7 separate regions of the Homo sapiens genome follow, and all the other regions are linked to region 1. Evidence: promoter capture Hi-C in 16 types of primary human blood cells and fetal thymus (Javierre and others, 2016). All regions are on one chromosome and are shown on one strand. The core of a region is centred on a gene start or on the middle of the fragment in contact, and the rest is flanking DNA. Distances in the headings are between cores, read along the strand shown.

Region 1 (3,500 bases), core at 305-2,804:
AGCAACAAACCCGGGTCTCTCACGCCTGCTCCCCCTCGGTATTTGAGGTTACTTCTGCTCACAGCTCTGCCTCACCTCCACCCTCTGCCCACTAAGCCGTCACCTTGGCTCTGTACTTTCTGGCTGTGTGACCCTAGGTAAGTGACTTAATTTCTCTGTGTCTATTCCTTCAGTTTCCCCATCTGTAAAATGCAGATAATAAGGCAGTTGTGAGAATACAACAAATTGAACTCATTGTATCTGCCTAACAGCCCTCACAGGCAGATTCTTTATCGTCGTCTCCCAGGCAGGCAAGCTGAGGCCCGGAGAGGAGAGATGACTTGCCCAAGGTGTCCCAGCCAGGCCTGCTACAGCCAGGCCTTCTGACTTCTTTGCCAGTGCTCCCACACACTGCCCACACCCTCAAGAGCCTAGCGCTGCAGTGCAAGGACACCCACCACACCAGTGAGCTCGGTGACACGTGGGTGGGGGGCAGTGCCACTGAGTCTTGCTGAACACAAGGGAAAAGGCCTGGCATCTTGACCCAAGGCCTCAGGAGCAGAGACTGCAGAGGGCCACGGCTTTGGAGAGATGGGAAAAATGACCTGGCAGGGCCCAGGGGGACAGATGCCACCCTGGGAGGGGCACTAGTAGCTCCCTTCCCCGGTAGGGGCAGACCCGCCCAGGAGCCTCAGCTTGTCAGCTGTGGAATGTTGAATTCTGTTCCCCAAGGCCAGCTCCCAGGCTCTCAACCGGGGAGATCCTCTCCCAGCCGCCAAGGACTCGCCATTGTCCCTCCCTGCCCCTCCTGGCAGGTCAGCCTCCTTGTGCGGGACTGGGGTGGGCAGAGGACTGTGACCCACCCCACTCTGCAGGAGCCTAAGGTGAGGCACCTGACCCAGGTACTACTGGAAGGGAAAGGAGGCCGGGGAAGGGGCCTGGCGGCTCCCTTCACGCCAGAATCTCCTTACCGGCTAAACCAGGGGTGGGGCTTGGCACGCATCCCACATCCCAGGGTAGGAAGGAGGGCTGGGCGAGAGGGGGCAACCTGCACCTAGCACGCCCCTGGGGTCTTCAAGGAAACACCTTCCCTTTCTCCACCAGGCCTCGGGATTATTTAGGGAGACTCCCTACCCCAACCCCGACCCCACGCTGTCGCTAGGACCCGCCCCCAGCAATCCGGGCCTCTGTAGCTACCTCGGGTGGTCCTGGAAGTGGGCGTGGGTGTGGCAGAAGTGGGGGGATGGTCCCGAGCTCCAAACTCTTGGGGCAGGGAGTGGTCTCCCCCAGCAAAAGACTGAATCTCCCTCTCCCACCACCCCCCAGCACAGGGCAAGGCGCAGACCCCGCGCTCACCCAGAAGACAATGTTGAAGCCAAACAGGAAGTATTTCCCGCAGCAGCCGACCTCAGGTTCCTGGAAATGCTGGTGCTTGCCGGGCATGGTGAGCGGCCACCCGCCGGCCCGGAAACCGGAGCCGGGAGCCAGGCCCAGCGCCCCGCGGGCCGCCCTGGGCTAGAGCCGCCCGGGGCCTAGCCGGGCGGCTGCGGCTTCATGGCCTCGGCCACACAGAGCGCCGGTCGGGCCCCGCCCGCCCCTCAGGGACCGCCCTCAGCATCCAGACCTCCTTGCCCGGAGCCCTGCTGTCCCCGCCTCTGGACCGGGCCCCGCCCCCACAGCCCTCAGTCCCTTTGGAGTCCCGCCTCCTGACCTGGCTCCGCCCCCATAGATCAACTCAGTCCCGCCTGAGCCCCGCCTCTGGACCTGGCTCCGCTTCCCGAGCTCCGCCCCCACAGCCTGATTCGGACCTCCTCGCAGCCCCGCCTTCGGCCAGGCCCCGCCCCCGCGCAGGCCGCCGCCGCGTTTCCCAGCGTCCTGCAGACCCGCCCGGGACGCCGGCTGATGGCGCCGGAGGCCGCCGGGGTGTAGAAGCCTTGCTTCCCCTGCTGGGTACCAGCGCCATCCCAATCCCCAGCCTGCTGTTGGAGCCCATCCCAGGGGAAGGTTAACTGCTGCTCTGGCAGGCGAATGGGGAAGCTGGTCCGGATTGAGTTTTTAACACGTGCAGGACGTTTTGTCATTGTGGAGTCGCATCAGGCTCACCTTCACCCAGCGGAAATCCAGCTCTACTTATCCTGACTCAAACTCAGGCCAAACGAGGGCCTGGGCCTTGGTGCCACGCCGGCTGCGCCCTGCCAGGGGCATATGCCCCCCGGAACCTGGCTCAAGCCCCCTTGGTGGCTGAGTTTCCCCAGCCACACCCCCTGTCCTCCATACTGGCCAGGGTCCCGGTCAGGCTCCTTGGTACCCAGTGATCTCACATGAGCCCCTGTAAGACAGGACAGAGGCAGATCAAAGTTTGGGGGAACCTGAATCTTACTCCAGTTTGAAGCCCTCTTAAAAATAATTCCAACTTTGTTCAGAAGTATTTATTTAAAACAGGAACAGAAAGATGCTTAAGCTTTTATTATCAAGTTTATCCACTTCCACCACTTCTACCAGAACCTTGGTGAGGCCTAGCCCAGCATCCCTCCACCTCCACTTCAGTCTGGCCCTGAGGCAGGCAAGGCCCAGACAGCCCTGGTCACAGCTGGGGAGAAGGGGAGCGGCCTTGCAAGGCTCTCTCAGTCCTCAGCAACCCACGTATCCCTCTGTACAAATGATGGCGTTCACCCTCCAGAATGTCTGTGCCCTTGAGCCCACCACCCATGGAAGAGTCTGTCTCTCAGGCCACCTCACCTCCTTCCTGGGTGGAAACAGTAAACGCTGGACTATGGGTTTCTCCGCCTACCATAGAGCCCTCCTTCCCCGCCATGACTCACCCCACCCTCAGGAGTTTTTTCCACCCTGCTGCTGTCCTGTGGCCCCAGGACAAGCTAGGTCCTCAGACTGCCACCACTACCCCCATCTAGCCCCTAAGGCTCAGGCCCCAACTCATGTTAAAGAGTGTTTGCATTCCTGTTCACTTGAGGACAGGTAAGAACTAGGCTGTCTGATCCCCAGTCCCGCCCCATCCCCCAAAGTAATGAGGCTCAGTGGCGGCTGTCCCATTACATAGGAGGGGTGCCAAGGCCCCCCTCACACCACAAACTTGTTCTTGGCTAGGGAGTTGCTCTTGGTGGCTGTGTCTGCATGGGCCTGGTACCCAATGATGGTCTTTGGGGAGAGGCCCAGGCGCTCTTTGTATACACGCCTGCAGGTGCGGGGGACACAGAGGAAAAGAGACACAGGTAGTCATCAGAGGGTCCTAGAGATAACTTAGGCCACCAGACTCCTACCCTCATTCTGGCCACAGCCACACCTGTTGTGTCTTACCCATGTGGAAACCCAAAATATGACCCCCTTAATGCAAAAGGAGAGCTGCACTGCCGTAAGAGAAAGTTAGAAATCTGAACGCCAGACCTTCCATACAGGTGGGCAAGGCAGAAGGGAGGGAGGCTATGGAGACTTTCAGAGGTCTCCCATGCAGGCCAAGCCCCCTCCACCCACCTTCCCTCTAGCAGAGACCCAAGTCCCCACCC
Region 2 (3,500 bases), core at 506-3,005, 460 kb before region 1:
GCTGGGAAGAGTTGGGGTGAAAGGCACAAGGATAGTGAAATTGGGATGCTGCTGGCTTCCTGTTGTTTGTTTCACGGTCAGGCACAGTGTGTTGGTCTGGCGACATTTTCATCATCATCTGCCCTGTCCACCCCCTTGTGGTCCCTCCTCAGGCCCCTGAAACACACTGATGCCACCTGTTCACTCAACTTTCTGTCCTTTCCCATCTCCAGGTTCTCCATCACCTCCTTCACCCTCCCACCCCCCATCAGCCAGTCCCCTTTTATTATTATTTATTTATTTATTTTCTGGGTTTTTTTTGAGACAGAGTCTCGCTCTGTCACCCAGGCTGGAGTGCAGTGGTGCGATCTTGGCTCACTGCAACCTCCGCCTCCCAGGTTCAAGCAATTCTCTGCCTCAGTCTCCCAAGTAGCTGGGACTACAGGCGCCCGCCACCACGCCCAGCTAATTTTTTGTATTTTTAGTAGAGACGGGGTTTCACCATCTTGGCCAGGCTGGTCTTGAGCTCCTGACCTTGTGATCCCCCGCCTCAGTCTCCCAAAGTGCTGGGATTACAGGTGTGAGCCACTGCGCCCAGCCCCCTTTTATTTTTATTTTTATTTTGTTTTTGAGAGGGAGTCTTGCTCTGTCATCCAGGCTGGAGTGCAGTGGCATGATCTCGGCTCACTGCAACCTCCACCTCCTGGGCTCAAGCGATTCTCCTGCCTCAGCCTCCCGAGTAGCTGGGCTACCTAGTAGCCCACCCACACCCAGCTAATTTTTGTATTTTTAGTAGAGACAGGGTTTCACTGTGTTGGCCAGGCTCATCTCAAACTCCTGACCTCAGGTGATCTGCCCGCCTCAGCCTCCCAAAGTGCTGGGATTACAGGCATGAACCACTGTGCCCGGCCTCCCTTTTATTTATTTATTTATTTATTTATTTATTTATTTATTTATTTCAGACAGGAGCTTGCTCTGTGTTCCAGGCTGGAGTGCAGAGACTCAATATCGTAGCTCACTGCAACCTACTGGGCCAGATCCTGAAGGCCTCCTCTGCGTGTTAAGGAGCTTGGACTATTCCAAGCAGAGACTGTTCTCTCTGTAAGAGTGATCCTACCACCTCAGCCTCCCAAGTAGCTGGGACTACAGGCACGTGTTCTCGCACTCGGCTAATTGTTTTATTTTTTTTGTAGAGACAGGGTCTCACTGTGTTGCCCAGACTGGTCCTGAACTCCTGGCCTCAAGTCATTCTCCCGCCTCAGCCTCCCAAAATGCTGGGATTTCAGGCGTGAAATGCCATGCCTGGCCTAGCAAATCCTCTTATTCTGCATCTGGCCTTCCACTTTTCTCTATCCCCTTGGCCAAGCTGGGAGCCTCAGAATGTAGCTGTGCAGAGGCGCTGCTGGCCCCAGACCAGAGAGTGGGAGACAGCGTGGATGGTCACTCTGTGGATGCTCTGGGGCTCTTACTTCTGTCTTCTTGGGAGGCCACACATGTACTTTGGGGGGCTGTTCCGGTTCCCGGCTCTGAGTCTAGCCAGGCGCTGCAACAATCCCCTCCACTGCCTGCCCATCTGCACCAGCCCCTTGCTTTCCTGTCTTGTCACTTGCCTTAGGATAAACCCACAGCCTACGAGGCCCCCTGGGTTTGGCCTCATCTGGCACCGTGTTCCCCCTCACTCTTGTGCTCTGTCCACGGAGCTGGATCGGATGCCCTCACCTTCGCCCTGCACCTGCCTGCCTCCAGACCTTTGCAGAGACCATTCTGTCTGCCTGGAATGCATTTCCTCCCACTCTTCACAAGGCCAAGGCTCTCCTCCTTCAACTCAAACATCATTCCCTCAGGGAACCCTTCCCGGAGCCGGAGCCGGAGCCGGAGCCGGCCAGGATCAGTCCCCACCGTCAGCACTCACAGCTGCAGGCTGTTGACCTTCAGAGCTCTGCGTTTCATTACAGTCAGCATTTTCCTGGGTGTTTGTTGAATATCTGTCTCCATTTGTAGATACGAAACTCCTCAGGGCAGGGGCCAGGTCTGTCTTCACTGGGTATACCCAGTGACTAGAAGAGTACCTGGCCTATGGTAGGTGCCCAGTAAACATTTCTTGATTTACTGAGCCTTTCAATTCCCAACACTCCACAACTCCACACCCCTGCACGCCTTCCTCTATCTGGTCAGTGCTCAGTGCTTCGTTCTTTTTTTTTTTTCTTCTAATACAGAGTTTTGCTCTTGTTGCCCAGGCTGGAGTGCAATGGCACAATCTCAGCTCACTGCAACCTCTGCCTCCCGGGTTCCAGCAATTCTCCTGCCTCAGCCTCCGGAGTAGCTGGGATTACAGGCGCGTGCCACCACGCCCGGCTAATTTTTGTATTTTTAGTAGAGACAGGGTTTCACCATGTTGGCCAAAATGGTTTTGATCTCCTGATCTCGAGATCCATCCGCCTCGGCCTCCCAAAGTGCTGGGATTACAGGCGTGAGACACTACGCCAGGCCTCATTCTCCATTCTTATCACCCTGCCCCCCAGACAGTCGTGCTAATAGTTTTGTGTGTGCGTTCTTGGAAAATGTGTGTTTTCCGTGTCATCATTTCGTGCAAGTGGCTTTGTGCTTTAGATCTCATTCCATTTCTTCCTCTTGCCTCTCAGCACGAGATTTCTAAGTCCCCCATGTGGCTCTGTGTCCACCGGGTCCTCCACACATTCTGCTGATCCGCCTTCCAGTGAGGAACCCCAGGCTGGATCCAACCCCTCCTCCTGCCTTCCCCACACGGTCACATGGGAGGATCTCTGTGTGTTGTGTGTGTGTGTGTGTGTGTGTGTGTGTGTGTGTGTGTGTGTTTGGGGGCAGTTATATGTTCAGGGCAACATTTCCAGGTCATAGGGCATGTGTGTATATACTTAGCTGAATGCTCCTAGACTTCGCTGGGACAGCTTCAGCCCCCAGTCCAGGAGAGCCTCTCGTCTCCTTGCCAGCACCTGGAGTTCTCCAGCTTTTTTTTTTTTTTTTTTTTGAGACGGAGTCTCTCTCTGTCACCCAGGCTGGAGTGCAGTGGGACGATCTCAGCTCACTGCAAGCTCCGCCTCCTGGGTTCACGCCATTCTCCTGCCTCAGCCTCCTGAGTAGCTGAGATTACAGGTGTGCACCACCATGCCTGGTTAATTTTTGTATTTTTAGTAGAGACGGGGTTTCACCCTACTGGTCAGGCTGGTCTTGAACTCCTGACCTCGTGATCTGCCCTCCTTGGCCTCCCAAAATGCTGGGATTACAGGCTTGAGTCACCATGCCTGGCTAATTTTTGTACTTTTAGTGGAGACGGGGTTTCACCATGTTGCCCAGGCTGGTCTCGAAATCCTGACCTCAGGTGATCTGCCTGCCTTGGCATCCCAAAGTGCTGGGATTACAGGTGTGAGCCACCATGCCCGGCCTTTTTTTTTTTTTTTTTTTTTTTTTTTTTTTAAATACCGAGTTTTGCTCGTGTTGCCCAGGCTGGAGTGCAATGGTGCAATCTCAGCTCACTGCAACCT
Region 3 (3,500 bases), core at 389-2,888, 440 kb before region 1:
TGTCTCTGGATCTACCCTGCGTGGGAAGCCTATCACACCTCCTCCTCCTTGGTCACTGCCACTCCACTTCCAGTCCATCTGGCTTCCCCTGCCCCTTCTCAAGGCAGGTCATGGCCATCTCTTGCATGGGCCTCTGGAAACATCCTCTCCCTCGGCTCTTCAACCTTCATCTTCCAGCAGAGTTTTAAAAAACTACAAGTCGGCTGGGCGCGATGGTTCACACCTGTAATCCCAGCACTTTGGGAGGCCGAGGTGGGCGGATCACGAGGTCAGGAGATCGAGAACATCCTGGCTAACACGGTGAAACCCCGTCTCTACTAAAAATACAAAAAATTAGCCGGGCGCGGTGGCGGGCGCCTGTAGTCCCAGCTACTCGGGAGGCTGAGGCAGGAGAATGGCGCGAACCCGGGAGGCGGAGCTTGCAGTGAGCCGAGATCGCGCCACTGCACTCCAGCCTGGGCGACAGAGTGAGACTCCGTCTCAAAAAAAACAAAATAAAAAAATAAAATAAAATAAAAAAACAAACAAAAAAACCTGCAAGTCTGCCATGTCATGCCCCCCAGCTTGCAAGCCCTTAATGGCTACCTGTGCCCAGCAGGATCCAGCTCAACATCCTAGGGCTCCCTCTCTGCCGCTGCCTATCTCTTTGGTCACACCGTCTGCCCCTTCAGGAGCGCTGAAGCCATTGGCTTTCAAAACTGGGCACATGTGCTCTCTTGCCCATCCCTCTGTGCCCCTCATTGCTCTTCTCTACCTGACTCAGATACTGCTGTCTCTGGCCCACCTCAACTCTCGAATCCAGTCGGATCCTCCTTGGTAAAACTCCCTACCAAGCTCGGCTTGGCAGGGAGGGCAGCTCTTTGGGTACACAGCTTGGGCTGGGAGTGGGTGGGGAGGCCCGGGGAGTTTATTCCTACCCCAGGCTGCCCTGATATCAGAGTCCTTAGTCGAGTCACCCATGGCTGCTGACCGCTGACCGACCACCCCCCACGTGGGAATGGAGGGCCTGCCTTAGGCATCAGACAGTCCTGGGTTCTCCTTCAGCCTCCCGCACTCGCGCTGGAGGCCCCCGGGCACTAAGTGACTGAACTTTTCGGGGCCTCAGGTCCCTCATCTCTGCCGCCGGCGCGAAGACAGCCGCAGGGACAAGCGCGCTTGTCCTCCCCCACCCTTGCCGGGCCAGCCTGGGGGGAGGTGCGAATCAATGGGTCCCGAGGGTAGCTGCACAGGGCCAGCCTGCCCCCGCCTCGGTGGGCAATGAGTAACCAGCTCCGCGGCCGGGGTGCTCTTTGGACGGAGCGGGACAAAAGGCCCTGTGTGCACTGCGGGTTACTGATTTACCGCCCCCTCCACCCCCTGCCGCCCGGCGGACGCCCAGGTCCCCTGCGCCGGGAGGGGCAGTCCCCGTAGCCCCGCCGCCTCTCGCCCCCTGGCGGCTGGGAGCGCAGCCCGGGCCCACAAGGGTTCCGGCTCACCTCGAGCCTGCGTGACTCCGCGCCCAGCACAGGGTCCTGCTCACCTGGCTCCTCCTCACCTGGCTCCTCCGCCGCCTCACTCCCAGCTCCAGCCGGCCGCGACCCCTGCACGCGGCAGGGTCCGCAGACAGCCCGAGCGCTCCTCGGCCGGGAGCGAGGAATGTACCCGCGACGGCGGCGTGGCCGCGAGCGGCCCACCTCCTGTCCCACCCCGCCCCTCGGGCCCGCCCCCTCCTGCTCGGGCCCGCCCCTCCTTCCACGCCCCCCCCCCCCCCACCCGGGCCCGCCCACCTCCTGCCACACCCCCTCGGGCCCGCCCCGCCTAGACCAGCTCGAGCCGGAGAGAGGTGTGGCCAGGGGTGGCCAAGATCCCCGCCCACCTGGAGAGCCCCGCCCCCGACCCAGTCAGCCCACTCCCGGGACCCCGCCCCAGCCTATACACACACCCCTACACGCAACCCCCCTATACACACCCCATTCAGGCTCCGCCTCTTTCGCCCCACCCAGGCCCCAGGCCAGGCTCCTAAATTCTAGTCTACTACCCAGCTCTACTCCTTGCTTTTCACCCTTCAGGGAATGCCTGGCTCCCCTGTCTTCTGCGCAGTGCCGTGCAGCGGATAGGAGAACCCCTTCCTTCTGCTCCCTCATTTGTTCCCTGCGCAACCTGCGGAGTGATACTTACAACACAAATCTGACTGTGTCAGCCACTCCCTTAAATTTTCCTATAGATTCCCATAGCTCTTTATACATAGATTGCCATGACCCACGCCTCCTGGCTCCCACCCTGCTACTCCTGGGCAGTTTCACGTACCATTCTCTCTTCCTGGAATGGCCCTTGGTCTGGTTAATTTCATATTATTCTCAGCTCACTTCCTTCAGGAAGCCCTCTGGACTTGCAAGCTCCTCTTAGATGACGTCTCTACTGTGAGGATGGAGAAAGAAACAGGGTGAAGTGGTTCAGAGCACAGACTACAGGGCTGGACGTCATAGGCCCAGCTCTCAGCACCATCACACAAGGCCTCAGTCTTCACTGTCCTTTCAGTAAAACAGGCAAATGATAGTCTCACCCACAAGAGGTTGTTGCAAAAAGTAGACATGTTAGCAGTATGTGTAAGCCTGGCATGCAGCGCTTGCTTTGTAATACTAGCTGTAATTATTTAGGACCTGTTATTTCTTCAGCACGCTTGCCAGAATTGTAACTGAACAGTTAATTATGTAAATAGCTGTGGAATGGCCGGGCACAATGACGGGTGCCTGTAGTTCTAGTTACTAGGAGACTGAGGTAGGAGGACAGCTTGAATTCAGGAGTGTGAGGCCAGCCCTGGCAACATAGTTGCCCTGTCTCTATTTTTCAGTAGAGGAACTGTGTCCTCAGACCTCACCATTAGAGTTCAAGTGTCTGGCATACAGTAGGTGCTCCCAGATAGCTCCGTGCCCACCTGGCTCATGTTTGCCTCACCTGTAAGCACTTCTCTCCTGAGCATCTAGACTGTGGCCAAACCAGGAGGCCAGGCAGCCTCTGATCTCTGCCCATCCCTCACCTGAATCTCAAGCCTTCTCCTTCTCTTAAGGCACCTTGAGAGGAAGGGAAATGGGCTGGGTGCACCTGTGGTCCCAGCTACTTGGGAGGCTGAGGCCAGAGGATTGCTTGAGCCCAGGAAGTCGAGGCAGCAGTGAGCCGTGATCGCTCCACTGCACTGTAGCCTGGGCAACAGGCTATGGAGCGAGACCCTGTCTGAGGCTCAGGTCCTGGTTGTCCCCTCTAGCTAGTGTAGACCCTGTCTTAAGAAGCAACTTCCTTTCTCATTGTTACGCAGGCAAGTCTAGTTCTTTCCACCCTCACTCCCAAAGGGATAGTGGCATATCTTTGCATAACTGTAAGGCCCATTAAAGAGACTTAAAATTGTTTTTTTCTTTTTCTTCTTAAGCGAAAGAATGGTCTCCTCCCAAAGATAAATCAGAAAATAATTGAGGCCAGGCATGGTGGCTCATGCCTATAATCCCAGCACTGTGGGAGGCTGAATC
Region 4 (3,500 bases), core at 544-3,043, 350 kb before region 1:
TGGTTGTCTTGACTGTTTTGGGTTAGCTTTATAGTTTTCTTGAGAAGAGATTTGTCAACCTCCTTACATGGTCATGATGGTAACCACAAGTCCTTTTTTAGTTTGTTTATTGACTTAACACCACTCAGTGACTATTTTGAGTTTTCATCAAGGTATATAACTGTGTAATCACCTCCACAATCAAGATAGAGAACATTACCTCAAAAGTTACCCTCCTGCCCCTTACCAGTAATTTCTCTTCCTCTTCTGACCTGGCTCCAGGCAAATGCTGGTCTGTTTTCCTTTAACTGTTGATTAGTTTTTTTCTAGTTTCATACAGGTAGAATCATAGTTTGTAGTCTTTTAGACATTGCTTCTTTTGCTCACCATAATGTCTTTGAGATTCATCTGTGTCGTTGGATGCATCAGTAGTTTGTTCCGTTTTATTGTTGAGCAATTTTTCATTGTAGAGATAGGTCTCAATTTGTTTATTCACATGTTGATGGATATGTGGGTTATTTCCAGTTTTTGTCCCTTATGACTAAGGCTGCTATGATGAACATTCACGTCTTTATTTCTCTTGAGTAAATACCTAGGAATGAAATGGCTGGGTAATGTAGTAGATACATGCTTATTTTTTAAGAAACTCCCAAACTGTTTTCCAAAGTGGATGTACCACTTTATATTCCTTTTTTTTTTTTTTTTTTTTTGAGATGGAGTTTCACTCTTGTTGCCCAGGCTGGAGTGCAATGGCATGATCTCGGCTCACCGCAACCTCTGCCTCCCAGGTTCAAGCGATTGTCCTGCCTCAACCTCCCAAGTAGCTGGGACTACGGGCTCCTGCCACCATGCCTGGCTAATTTTTTGTGTTTGTAGTAGAGATGGGGTTTCACTGTGTTAGCCAGGATGGTCTCGATCTTTTCACCTCGTGATCCACCCGCCTTGGACTCCCAAAGTGCTAGGATTACAGGTGTGAGCCACCGTGCCTGGCCTTTTTTTTTTTTTTTTTTTTTTTTGGAGACAGAGTCTTTCTCTGTCACCCAGTCTGGAGTGCAGTGGTATGGTCTCGGCTCCTGAGTTCAAGCAATTCAATTCTCCTACCCCAGCCTCCTGAGTAACTGGAATTACAGGTGCATGTCACCACACCCAGCTAATTTTTGCATTTTTAGTAAAGACGGGGTTTCACTGTGTTGGCCAGGCTGGTCTCAAATCCTTGTCCTCAAGCAATCTGCCTATCTCGACCTCCCAAAGTGCTGGGATTACAAGTGTGAGCCACCATGCCCAGCCCACAAGTTGTCATTTCATCTGTTGATGGAATCTGGGTTGTCTTTGGTGTTTGACATTATGGAAAGAGCTGCTATGAACATACATATACAAGTTTTTGGGTGGTAATGTTTTCATTTCTACTGAGTAATTAATAGTAGTGGAATTGAAGCAAAGTTAAAAAGAGAAAAACAAGTTTTCCTGTACTTGGCTGACTCACTCCAAGGCCAGCAATAGGCAGGGCCCTGGCAGAGCCTTGATAACACTATCTGAAAAGCCAGAGCCCAAAGGAATGAGCTCCAGATACTCTCCCAGCACACTGCCCCCCACACCCCGCCCCAGAGTGAGGATAAGAAAAGAAAACAAATTCCTTTCTCATAACTATTTCTACAAATACCTGTGTTTCACAAGTTTTGTAAGTTCCTGTTTTCCCTACTGTGCAGCTGCATGATCACAAGCTATGCCTGCGTTGCGAGACCTGTCGCAATTTAATTAACTGCCTTTGTTCTGCTTCTGTAAGCCTGCTTGCCTGCCCCATGAGTTTCGCACTGTCACATTCCCACCGCACCATTCAAACTAGCCAACTCCCTTTCAGAAGTGTGTATAAAAGTCAAGCCCTGTCTTTGTTGAGGGCTCAGCCTTTGGATGTTAATCTGCTGGGCTGGTGGCCACCTAAAGAAAATCCTCCTGTTCCACGCATTGGTCTCTCCAGTCTCCAGATTCCTGCAACAGAATGACTGGCTTACATGACAGTTATACTTTTTTTTTTTTTTTTTTTTTAAAGAAACTGCCAGTTTTCCAAAGTGGTTATGCCATTTTACATTCCCATTAGCAGTATATGAGAGGTTCATTATATTCTGCATTCCTGCCCACATTTGTATTGTCACTATTTTCAATTTTAGCCATTCTAATGGATATACAGTGTTAGGCCATTGTAAATTTAATTTGTAATTTCTTGATGAATAATGATATTGAATATCTGTTTGTTTTTCCTTATTGGCCTTTAGTATATCTGCTTTTGTGAAGTTTGTTAATATCGCTTGCTTCTTTTAAATATTGGTTTGTCTTTTTTTATTTTTTCTTTTGAGATAGGGTCTCAGTGTGTTGTTCAGGCTGGAGTGTAATTTTTGGAATCCACCTAGAGATGTAAAGTGACATAGCCAGCCTCCCAGTGTTTATGTGTTTAATAAGCATGTTTATGCTGCATTACCCAAGTGTTTTTTACTATTTCATCCTTTTCACACTTTGATTTTTGTATACTTTCTTCTTTTTTTTTTTTTTTGAGATAGAGTTTCACTCTTGTTACCCAGGCTGGACTGCAGTGGTGTGATCTTGGCTCACTGCAACCTCTGCTTCCTGAGTGCAAGCAGTTCTCCTGCCTCAGCCTCCCAAGTAGCTGGGACTACAAGTGCCTGCCACCATTCCCAGCTAATTTTTGTATTTTTAGTAGAGACGGGGTTTCACCATGTTGACCAGGCTGGTCTCAAACTCCTGACCTCAGGTGATCCTCCTGCCTCAGCCTCCCAATGTGGTGGGATTACAGGCGTGAGCCACCGCGCCTGGCAGATTTTTGTATGTTTTCCAGTACACAAAATACATACATTAGTATTCATATAGTTAAAAAAGTAAATATACATATGTTGTGGTTGTGCCTTACAAATTATCAGTAGAGATACTTTATAATTATTAGACTTTAAGTCTTTAAGTTCTGGGGTACATGTGCAGAACGTACAGGTTTTTTATATAGGTATATTCGTGCCATGATGATTAGATATATTTTTAAAAGGTAAGAAAATATTTGTGCCTGGGCATGGAGGCTCACATCTGTAATCCCAGCACTTTGGGAGACCTGGGTGGGAGGATCACTTGAGCCCAGGAGTTCGAGACCAGTCTGGGCAATGTAGTGAGACCTTGTCTCTACAAAAAATAAAAAGTAAATTAGCTGGGTGTGGTGGCACATGCCTGTGGTCCTAGCTACTTGGGAGGTTGAGATGGAAGAATTGCTTGAGTCTAGGAGGTTGAGATTGTGGTGAGCCGTGTTGGCCTCATAAAGTGCTGGGATTACAGCATGAGCCACTGCACCCGGCCAAGAATTTTTTTTTTTTTTTTTGAGATGGAGTCTTGCTCTGTTGCCCAGGCTGGAGTGCAGTGGCACAGTCTTGGCTCAACCCCTGTCTCTGGGGTTCAAATGATTCTCATGCCTCAGCCTCCCCAGTAGCTGGGATTATAGGTGCACACCACCATGCCCAGCTGATTTT
Region 5 (3,500 bases), core at 269-2,768, 320 kb before region 1:
CCAGCCAGTGTTTGAGAATGTGAACGTTAAATCTTTTGACAGATGTACTGGCCACTCGGCTGAGCACACACAGTGTGGGAAGCCACAGGAAAGTACTGGGAGGGGTTCTGCTTTTCTCAAAGCTGTCCAGGGTAGCGGGGACACATCTAGGCACTGTCTACCTACCCTAGCAGATGCCAAAGGTCTCCAGGACACTGGGGGCACTGTGAACTATTTCTGGGGTATTCCATTCTGCCCTGATGGAGTAGACCCTAACCAGTATACCAAGGTCATTCTCTGCCAGTTGGAGGTTTATCAAAAGAGCCTGAAAATGGCTCAGAGGCAGCTCCTTAATAAAAAAGGTTTTGGGGAACCAGTGTTACCTAGACCTCCTTCTCTGATCCAGAATGAATGTGGCCAAGGAGAGCAGGCTAGTGAGAAAAATGAATGCATCTCAGAAGATATGGGAGATGAAGACAAAGAGGAGAGGCAGGAGTCTAGGGCATCTGACTGGCACTCAAAAACCAAGGATTTCCAGGAAAGCTCAATTAAAAGCTTGAAAGAGAAACTTTTGTTGGAGGAAGAACCAACAACCAGTCATGGTCAGGTAAGGGTCAGTGATGCTGTAATTAAGGATGATTTATTCACAGATTAAAACAAGGATTATTTTAGCTGTTATTTTTGTGGTCTTCCCCTCCTTGATTATTAAAGTAATACATGTTCACTATAGAAAATTAGGAAAGTACAGGAGAGTATAAAGAAGAAAAAAACTACCATTTTTTTTTTTTTGAGTTGGAGTCTCGCTCTGTCTCCCAGGCTGGAGTGCAATGGCGCAATCTTCGGCTCACTGCAATCTCCACCTCCCGGGTTCAAGCAGTTCTCCTGCCTCAGCCTTCCAAGTAGCTGGGATTACAGGTGCTTGCCACTATGCCCTGCTAATTTTTGTACTTTTAGTAGAGACGGGGTTTTACCCTGTTGGCTAGGCTGGTCTTGAACTCCTGACCTTGTGATCTGCATGCCTTGGCCTCCCAAAGTGTTGGGATTACAGGCGTGAGCCACCACACCTGGCCAGTCATCATTTCTATGCATACAAAAATACATGAAAAAATTTTTTGAACAAAATGAAGACTCTTCTGTGTTAAGTTTTGTTCCTCTCCCTACTTTATAGTTTATCTTAGATCATTTCTTAATAGATGACTTATTCTACCATAGATAAACCATAATTTATTTTTTGTATAAATTTTTTTTTTTTTTTTTTAAAGACAAGGTCTCGCTCTGTCACCCAGGCTAGAGTGCACCGATGCCATCTTGGGTCCCTGCAGCCTCCACCTCTGGGATCAAGCGATCCCCCAACCTCAGCCCGTCGCAATAGCTGGGACCATAGGTGCACGCTACTACGCTGAGCTAATTTTTATATTTTTTGTAGAGATTGAGTTTCACTTTGTTGCCCAGGCTGGTCTCGAACTCCTGTACTCAAGCCATCCACCTACCTTGTTCTCCTGAAGTGTTGGCAGTGTAGGCATGAGCCAACACGCCTGGTCTAAAAATTATTATTATTTCTGAAAGGTTAAATTTTTGAATAGGTAACAATATTCACATGGCTCGAAATTCAAAAATATATAAGTAAAAAGTCTTAACTTTTCTCCCTATCACCTAGCCAGCCAGTTCCCCTCTCTGGACTCAAATTTGTGTTACTAGTTCTAGTGTATCCTTCCAAGATACTTTATCTGGTACAAGCAGAATACATTTTCTTTTCCCTGCCTTCTTTTACACAAATGATTTACACATTATTTTCTACTTTTTTCATTTAATATCCTAATGAGATCATTACATAACAGTATATAAAGAATTTCTTCATCTTTTTTTTTTTTTGGATGTGAAAAATACCATGTGTGGATTAGTCAGAGTTTACTGTTACAGATAGTAAAATGTCCAGAAGACATTTCATCCACATGGAAGATATTTGTATTATATGATAATTTTCTGTAGCTGTAATTGGTGGACCAAAAAATGTATTTATAATTTCATTAGCTGTTGCCAAATTGCCCTCCATAGAGATCATATACATTTACATTCCCACTGGCAGTGTATGAATACTAGTTTCTCCATACCTACAGTAATGCAGTATTGTCAGACTTCTTGATCTTTGCCAGTCTGAGAGATGAAAAATGGCGTCTCAGTGTAGTCTTAATTTGCGTATCTCTTACTATTTGTGAGGCTGAACTTTTTTCTCACATGTCTAAGACCCATTTGTATTTCCTTTTCTGTCTGTTAGATCTTATGATCATTTTTTCTTTTGATAATCTATTGGTTTGTGGATACACTTTATATAGTAGAGAAAGTAGTCCTTTGTGATATGAAGTATGGATAGTTTCCGAGTTATTTTTTCCCATTACATAATGGTGTATATTTATTATTTTGCTTGTAGTGGTTTTGAATAATTTATTGAAACCAATCTTCATCTTGGTACATTTAGTTTGCTTTTTCTGAAGTAGCTAGATTATATTGTGTATGAAAGCTTATATCTTATTTTTCCCTTTGAATATTATAAAGCAATAATATAAACTCTTTATATATAAATTGTAATTTTAAAGAGTATTCTGTTTTATGACTATACTGTTTTTTCTTGCTATTTCTGTTACCAGACTTTGACTTTTGGTTTTGTTTTACTATTATGTTATTCTGTCTTTCTTGTGTTATGATAAAGGTTCAAGAAATGGTAACTTTGAGGAGCTTCATAGAATAGAGAACATGGATTTGGAGTTGAGTTCTGATTTTTGTGTTTAGTAATTTGTGTGTTTTTGAGCAAGTCACTTAACCTCTTTGAATCCCAGTTTCACGTCTATACAGTGGGAATAACAATTCCTATCTTTCGACAGTTATTTTAATGATTAAAGTGAATTTGTGTAAAATGTCTACTGCAATGCATAGCATAGGCACTGAACAACTGGTAATTCTCTCTAAGGGATCAAAGGTCATTCACTGGGGAGATGCCTCTAGGAATCATTATTTCCTAGTAACCATCTTCATTCACATTCTGGAAAGATTGTTGTCTAGGAAGAGAAGGCATTTTTATTTAAAGAAATTTTTTTTCTGAAGGTATATCAGCAAAGAAGGCATTTTTAAGAAATAGTTATTTTAGTGACTGGTTTCTTTTCCAAAGGAAAGTTACATGATGCTTATGATAAATGTTTAGTTTGTTCTTTCCAATTCGGAGATGCTGCTTCTTAAAATAATACATTAACTCCAAAGAGTGACACTTAATGATTTATTGTAATTCAAGTTGTTAGCTTGCAAGATCCCAGGGGCCAGAGCTCTACATCATAGACTTGTGTCAAGTTCTGTGTTGTGTCAAGTTTGAAAGTACTGCCTTTGCAGTAGCCTGGAAGAAGTCAAAATCTAGTGGATGGTCTTAATTAGATTGAAGTTCTTTGACTCTTAACTTCATGACCAGACCACCAAATACTACAGGTAGTATTATCAGTTAATACTATTTGCTGCAGTAAACTGAATTAAGCTAG
Region 6 (3,500 bases), core at 732-3,231, 300 kb before region 1:
CCACAACATGATAGAATGGAATTACTGAAGGTTTTGATGCCAAGTGGGCCTGGGTTTGTTCACTTAGTAACTTTGTGACCAGCAAGTTACTTTGCTTTTCCAAGCCTCAGTTTCCCCTTCTGTAATAGCAGAACTAGTGATACTTCTGTCCAGCGGCTTGTTGGGAGGGATGGATATGGAAAATGACTGGTGGAGCCTGCATAGTGTAAGAACTCAACCACTGTTAGTTCCTTTCTCATCTTTTAGGTTTTACGCCTTTAGAGTATGTCTTTTAATAAAAGGCAGGTGATGTTGAAAACAGGACATTTTCTGGCAGTTTGACTTGGTATTTAGATGGCCTGTTTTCATCTCTGCTGGATCACACTTATAAGCATTAGGTTTTAGAGATAGCCCCAACCTCTTACCCCAAAAGACCCAGTTGACTCAGAAGTCACATTTTCTATGCATTGAAGTTTTGGTCGTGTTTTGTTCTTGTATCAGAAGATATTTTATTTGTTTTCCTCATGTAGTAAGGTGTAATGACAGCCCGGGTGTCCCTTGCTTTAAATGTAAGCAGTAGCTATGCAGGATGTTTTCACATTGATTGGATAGGACATGCTGTCCTTTGAAGCAAGTGTTAGGCAGTAGTGCTGCAGTGCTCACACACACTGTTGAATTAATCACTGCAGAGTTCTTGGCTCTGATCAACCTGTGTAGGTAAAATAAAACTGCCTTTAAGAGATACCAGCAACTGTAGGAGAAATGATGACTACAAAACAGAGGAATAAGAGATAGGTTTAAGAGTGGCTTTGGCAGAATTGATTATTTTAACTAATGAATTATTTGGTGCTTCTTAAGTATGTAGATCTTAGTTTCCTCTTTCAATCCAGAAAGTCACAAATAAAACACAGGTCTTAGGTCTTATGGGTCTAAGTACAGACTTATGTTCTTAACTTAAATCCTAGTTGTGCTGTTTTTGGCTTAGAGCTCTTTTGTTTTCTAACTCCTTATGTCTTAAAGTCACTTACAGTAATAACAGTCCTTTTGTGAAATTGAAAATGTGTCCTTAAGGTGCTGTTGATATGCAAAATGTGAAACCCAGCAGGCACAGCACACTGATGCAATGAGGATTGTGCCTTACAATGTGGTAGAGATCAGTGCCCTCAAGTTTTTGAGGCAGATTCTAGTCCTTCATTTGAATCTCAACACTCCCACTTACTTGTTCTGTGACTTTGCAAATTGCTTTACTGTTTTACACAAGTACTTTTCTCACGTGTACAAAAGGAGTGTGCTAATAACTTTGTAAGATTAAATGAGTAATACATATAGAGTGTTTAATACATAGTTGTCAGTATAAATATACTTACATATAAATGAGTAATATATAAACTTACTGATAAACGAGTAATACATGTAGAGTGTTTAATACATAGTTGGCAGTATAAGGCACTGAATAAGTATTGACTCTATCAGTAGTATCTCTCAATCTTTACTCCTGAATTTGATAAGCTGTTGTTGTCTCTTTGAAAGTAAGTGAAATATGGGGTGGAGTCTCTTGCAGTTCGTTGTAGGGAATGATATGAACTAAAGCTGTTATGATTGCTGTTTGTCATGTTCTTCAGGTTGGTAACAAGGAAGATGCTGAGAAGGAAGTAGCTATTTCTACCTTCTCATCCAGTAACCAGGTATCCTGCCCGCTATGTGACCAATGCTTTCCACCCACAAAGATTGAACGACATGCCATGTACTGCAATGGTCTGATGGAGGAAGATACAGGTAAAGACCCAGCAGGACAGCCAAACTCTTACTTTTTTGTGTGGTGGTTTTATAATCCTATACATTACAATGCAGGGAAAAAACATAGCTGTTCTTCAAAGTTAAAGTTGTTGTTGGTCTTGGGTTTTTTCTATCTAGTTATTTTTCTAGTACTTTTATGTTCATCATTACTTTTAGCAGGTATTTTGTCCTGTTACACATGCCTCAGGAGAAGGGGAAGGGAAAAGTCTTTCATTTTTTAATGTTTTTGTTTGTTTGTTTGTTCTGTTTGTTTTTTGAGCCAGAGTCTCTGTCACCCATGCTGGATTGCAGTGGCGCGATCTTGGCTTTCTGCAACCTCCGCCTCCCAGGTTCAAACGATTCTCACGCCTTAGCCTCCCAAGTAGCTGGGACTACAGGCTTGCGCCACCATGCCTGGCTAATTTTTTTTGTACTTTTTTTCAGTAGAGACAGGGTTTCGCCATGTTGGCCAGGCTGCTCTCGAACTCATGACCTCAAGTGATTCTTCTGCCTTGGCCTCCCAAAGTGCTGAGATTACAGGTGTGACCCACTGCACCTGGCCCAACCTTTTTTTTTTTTTTTTTTTTTTAAGACGGAGTCTCGCTCTGTCGCCCAGGCTGGAGTGCAGTGGTGCGATCTTGGCTCACTGAAAGCTCCGCCTCCTGGGTTCACACCATTCTCCTGCCTCAGCCTCCCGAGTAGCTGGGACTACAGGTGCCTGCCACCATGCCCAGCTAATTTTTGTATTTTTTTTTTAGTAGAGATGGGGTTTCACCATATTAGCCATGATGGTCTCCATCTCCTGACCTCGTGATCCACCTGCCTCGGCCTCCCAAAGTGTTGGGATTACAGGTGTAAGCCACCACGCCCAGCCTGCACCTGGCCCATCTTTTAACGTATTAACTTATTCTTTTACATAGGTAGGCTAGAAATCAGTGCAGTGCAGTGGACCTTGCATTTCAACTTATGTATTCAAATATTGAGATTCCTGTGGAACTTGAACTAAGTTCCACGTTTTTCATTCAGAATAAACCCCTTGTAGGTTTTTTCCCTCTTTTTGTAGTTTGTTTTAATAGAAATTTTACCTAGAGACAGCAGCTGAAAAATATCACTAATTTACATTCATGTCCTACATATCATATCTCTGCTGAGTTACCGAGGAGCTGTTGGTTTATCTCTTTAAGAGTGTACCAGAGGCTGGGCGCGGTGGTTCATGCCTGTAATCCCTTTGGGAGGCTGAGGCGGGTGGGTCACCTGAGGTCAGGAGTTCGAGACCAGCCTGGTCAACGTGGTGAAACCCTGTCTCTACTAAAAATACAAAAAATTAACCAGGCGTGGTGCCGGGCTCCTGTAATCCCAGCTACTCAGGAGGCTGAGTCAGGAGAATTGCTTGAACCCGGGAGGCAGAGGTTGTAATGAGCCGAGATCGTGCCATTGCACTCCAGCCTGGGCAACAAGAGTGAAACTTCATCTCAAAAAAAAAAAAGTCTGTACCAAAATCCCTACTTTTCAGACAGCATAAGACATTGATCAAGAAAATCTTGTTAATCACAGCCCTTGAAATACCACCTCTGATTTGGCCTGTTTATGATTTTAAACTCTAAATATAGTCATGTCAGCACAGCTCTCTGTGGTCTAACATGCTGAATGTAAACCTAGGTAATTGGAAGTGTTGCAGTGTTCTTCTCAGTGCTACTTGATTCCTGTAACTTAGGTGTATTTAAATGTGACATTGTATAATTATG
Region 7 (3,500 bases), core at 727-3,226, 280 kb before region 1:
GAAAATCAACTTACTGTATAAGTGAGAGTTTATGTCTGGCTTCTCTTTTTTATTTAATTGATCTGTTTGTCTTTATGCCAGTACAAGTGTCTTGATTATAGTAGCTTCATAGCGAGTCTTAAAGTCAGGTAGCAGGTAGCATAATTTCTCATTTGTTCTTTTTCAAGATTGTGGTAGATATTATTTTTATTATTTTTTTTTTTTTGAGACGAATTCTCACTCTTGTCCCCCAGGCTGGAGTGCAGTGGTACGATCTCGGCTCACTGCAACCTCCGCCTCCCAGGTTCAAGCGATTCTCCTGCCTCAGCTTCCTGAGTAGCTGGGATTACAGGCACCTGCCACCATGCCTGGCTAATTTTTGTAGTTTTAGTAGAGATGGGGTTTCGCCATGTTGGCCAGGCTGGTCTTGACTTCCTGACCTCAGGTGATCCACCTGCCTCGGCCCCCCAAAGTGCTGGGATTACACGCGTGAGCCACCGTGCCCGGCCAGATTGTGGTAGATATTCTAGTCTTTCACGGTTTCATATAAATTATTGAGCCAACATGTAAATATACGATGTAATTTCCAGTTTTATCCCTGATAATGTGTGTGTGTCTGTGTGTGTGTGTGTGTGTGTGTGTGTCTGTGTGTGTGTATATATATATATATTTTTTTTTTTTGAGACAGAGTCTTGCTCTGTTGCCCAGGCTGGAGTGCAGTGGCACAATCTCGGCTCACTGCAACCTCTGTCTCCTGGGTTCAAGCGATTCTCTTGCCTCAGCCTCCTGAGTAGCTGGGATTATAGGCACCCGCCACCATGGCCGGCTAATTTTCATATTTTTAGTAGAGACAGAGTTTTACCAAGTTGGCCAGGCTGGTCTCAAACTGCTGACCTCAAGTGATCTGTCCGCCTCAGCCTCCCAAAGTGCAGGGATTACAGGTGTGAGCCACCGTGCCCGACCTTATTTTCTTTCTTTCTTTTTTTTTTTTGCTTTTGATACAGTCTCACTGTGTTGCCCAGGCTGGAGTGCAGTGGCACTGTCTCAGCTCACTGCAGCCTGTGCCTCCCAGGTTCAAGGGATTCTTGTACCTCAGCCTTCCAAGTAGCTGGGATTACAAGCATGTGCCACGACACCCAGCTAATTATTTCTTGAAGTGTATTTTATCTGGTAGAACTACTGGATATGGTTCTAGTCATTTCAGTCTTATTCCTACTGTTTGCCTGATACATCTTTTTCCATTCTTTTAACTGATCTGTGTTTTTATTTTTAAAATGTGTCTCCTGTAGACAGCATACCATTGGGTCATGCTTTTATCCATTCTGACAATCTCTTGTTCTCTCAGGTACTAGGCTTGATAATCTTATTCTAATAGACATAGCTTCTAACTCAAACATCTTACGTGATTATGTTGGTAGTTCCTAAATAGAAATCTTTACAACCCTAAAAAGATAAGCATTGCTGGGTCCATTTACAGATGAGCAAACAAAGGCTTAGGGGCTTGAAGCCTATAAATACCTGCTCTGGCATAGGATTCAAAGGCAGTTAGACTCCAAAGACAGTACTGCAATGCCAGACTGCCTTCTTTGCTGCAAAAAAGCCACAGAGGCCCCCTGCCTACTCAAAATGTAGCGATTTTCTTTCAAGCTTAGAGATAAGCCTGTTCTCTTAAGAGGTGCACTTTTACTGATCTACTTCCTTACTAGTACTTGTCTATAATATTTATAGCTTAATCTTTAACAGCTGAAATTTTTGTTTAAGCAATTTGATAATATATACGTAGAACTTAAAAGTAATTCATATCTTCTGACCCATGAATTAAAGTTTGAAAATCTACTCTAAAAACGTCATCAGAATTTAGATGAAATTGTATAGACAAAGATGGTTTATCAAAGCATTATTTATAACAATGAACAACTTAACCCAATGTTCAAAAACAAGACGAAGTATTATATAAGGATTCAAAATAAAGACTGAAAGAAAATACAGTATTCTGAAATATTAACCATAATTTGGAGGAGACTAAAAGCAGAGAGACAGATGATAAAGCAGTGTTAGTAGAAGTGGACGGACTTGAGAATCTTTTGGTGAGAGAAGCAAACCTTGTGACTGGTCAAGATGAGAGAAGGCAATCTTAACTCAGGTTTCTGGCTAAGCCAATTGTAGGGTACTCAACTTAGAAAGCCCCTCTGAGTAATTCAGAAGATCACTGTGTTGTTTAACTATTGCTTGTACTTCCTTACTGACAACCCAGTTGGTATTTATTTAGCAGCAACTATAACGCAGATACTGTTCTGCAAGCTGAGGGTACAGTACTAAACACAAGTCAGTGTTCTTATAAAGCTTACCTTTTTGTGAGGGAAACAGATAATAAATACAATTTAAGAAAAACAAGGCAAGAAGAGGGGATGGAGAGTGACTAGAACAGAGGAAAAAGGGGGCTCGATTAAAGAGAAAGATCAAGGGAGACTTCTTGAGGTGATATTTGAATAGAGTCATTCTAGGTCAGGGAATAAATACAAAGGCCCTAAAGCAAGAGTGTGTTTGGCATGTTTCTTAGAGCTGCAGGAAAGACACAATGACTGAATTAGATTGAGCGACAGGGGGAAAGGAGAGAAGAAATAAACAGTGGTCAGATCATGTGAGGTGAGGTTTTTGTACTTCATTCCAAATATGATGAAAAGCCATAGGGGGGTTGAGAACGAGGGAATGATGTAATCTAACTCTGGCTACAATGTGGAAAATAATCTATAGAGGGATGGGGCAAAAATGGAATTGAGGAGACTAAGCAGGGGTGGAGGGGAGTGGCTGTTGCATTATTCCAGGGAAGATCTGATGTTTGCTTTGACCATAGAGGTAGCTGTGAGGTAAAGAAGTTGTCAGATTTGGGAATGTTTTGAAGGTTGAACCTACAGGATTTATTGGAGTGTGAGAGAACAAGAAAGACTAAGGTGAAATCAAGGTTTTGCCCCAAGCAACTGGGTTAATGATGACTTCGTTGTTTGAGAGCGGGAACACTGGGGCAGGAACAGGTTTGGAGGAAGAAATTAAGAATTTGGTTTTGTACATAATTTTAAGATGCCCAGTGAATAACCAAATGAAGATGTTGAGCAGACAGCAGGATATACAAGTCTAGAAATAACCTTATGGGAAATATTACTGCATATTTGTATGCTGATGGAATGATCTAAAAAAAGAGGGAAAAATTGATGTTTCAGGAGAGATGATGGCAGGAGGGGAATCCTTAATTAAGCAAGAAGCGTTCAGATTCAGGATCAAATGGAAAAGTGAGCCTTAGATAGCCGTGTGGGCAATTCATTCTGTGCAATAGGAGGGAAGGCAGAGGATATGGGTACAGATGCAGATAGACTAATACTTTTGGTGGTGGAAGAGTGTAGAAGTTCTCTCAAGTACTACTTTTTTCTCATCAAAAAAGTCTGAAAGGTTGGTTTAACATTAGAAAATCAGTTAATATACTGTATCATAGAACAAAGGACAAAAACCACACGATATCTAAATGG

Evidence for each region. Contacts are between HindIII fragments. The CHiCAGO score rates a contact against its expected background, and 5 or more counts as called.
Region 2: a contact is called between a fragment that was not itself captured here and the fragment with the promoter of TSPAN17 in region 1, in 6 of 17 cell types (endothelial precursors, total B cells, naive CD8 T cells and 3 more). The highest score is 8.7, in endothelial precursors.
Region 3: the fragment with the promoter of FGFR4 here is called in contact with the fragment with the promoter of TSPAN17 in region 1 in 1 of 17 cell types (endothelial precursors); the score reaches 5.2 in endothelial precursors.
Region 4: a fragment that was not itself captured here is called in contact with the fragment with the promoter of TSPAN17 in region 1 in 1 of 17 cell types (endothelial precursors); the score reaches 5.2 in endothelial precursors.
Region 5: a fragment that was not itself captured here is called in contact with the fragment with the promoter of TSPAN17 in region 1 in 14 of 17 cell types (naive CD8 T cells, M0 macrophages, naive CD4 T cells and 11 more); the score reaches 10.1 in naive CD8 T cells.
Region 6: a contact is called between a fragment that was not itself captured here and the fragment with the promoter of TSPAN17 in region 1, in 1 of 17 cell types (M2 macrophages). The highest score is 5.2, in M2 macrophages.
Region 7: a fragment that was not itself captured here is called in contact with the fragment with the promoter of TSPAN17 in region 1 in 1 of 17 cell types (endothelial precursors); the score reaches 5.3 in endothelial precursors.

What each region holds. Positions count from the first base shown.
Region 1 is chr5:176,645,538-176,649,037 of GRCh38, reverse strand. It overlaps TSPAN17 (tetraspanin 17), which reads right to left and starts at 1,554. Exons shown (of 9, transcript NM_130465.5): 1 at 1,336-1,554. The coding sequence starts at 1,422. EIF4E1B (eukaryotic translation initiation factor 4E family member 1B) reads right to left here. Exons shown (of 9, transcript NM_001099408.2): 9 at 2,394-3,172. The coding sequence ends at 3,058. RefSeq lists enhancers at 1-294, 2,656-2,950, 3,221-3,500 and a silencer at 1,323-1,982. The HindIII fragment of the contact is 21,997 bases long and covers 1-2,442 here.
Region 2 is chr5:177,108,401-177,111,900 of GRCh38, reverse strand. No RefSeq gene overlaps it. Among named protein-coding and RNA genes, the nearest start is that of FGFR4, 23 kb to the right of the region's middle. RefSeq lists an enhancer at 1,168-1,667. The HindIII fragment of the contact is 6,039 bases long and covers 1-3,500 here.
Region 3 is chr5:177,085,053-177,088,552 of GRCh38, reverse strand. FGFR4 (fibroblast growth factor receptor 4) reads right to left here and starts at 1,638. Exons shown (of 18, transcript NM_213647.3): 1 at 1,476-1,638. RefSeq lists an enhancer at 1,122-1,572, silencers at 1,268-1,727, 1,978-2,027 and a promoter at 1,538-1,757. The HindIII fragment of the contact is 20,491 bases long and covers 1-3,500 here.
Region 4 is chr5:176,993,033-176,996,532 of GRCh38, reverse strand. All of the region lies in intron 1 of UIMC1 (ubiquitin interaction motif containing 1), which reads left to right. Among named protein-coding and RNA genes, the nearest start is that of UIMC1, 12 kb to the left of the region's middle. The HindIII fragment of the contact is 4,492 bases long and covers 1-3,500 here.
Region 5 is chr5:176,965,641-176,969,140 of GRCh38, reverse strand. UIMC1 (ubiquitin interaction motif containing 1) reads left to right here. Exons shown (of 15, transcript NM_001199298.2): 6 at 1-586. Among named protein-coding and RNA genes, the nearest start is that of UIMC1, 39 kb to the left of the region's middle. The HindIII fragment of the contact is 1,963 bases long and covers 537-2,499 here.
Region 6 is chr5:176,941,590-176,945,089 of GRCh38, reverse strand. UIMC1 (ubiquitin interaction motif containing 1) reads left to right here. Exons shown (of 15, transcript NM_001199298.2): 10 at 1,602-1,755. Among named protein-coding and RNA genes, the nearest start is that of HK3, 44 kb to the right of the region's middle. RefSeq lists enhancers at 60-917, 918-1,776. The HindIII fragment of the contact is 4,397 bases long and covers 1-3,500 here.
Region 7 is chr5:176,921,024-176,924,523 of GRCh38, reverse strand. All of the region lies in intron 10 of UIMC1 (ubiquitin interaction motif containing 1), which reads left to right. Among named protein-coding and RNA genes, the nearest start is that of HK3, 23 kb to the right of the region's middle. The HindIII fragment of the contact is 696 bases long and covers 1,629-2,324 here.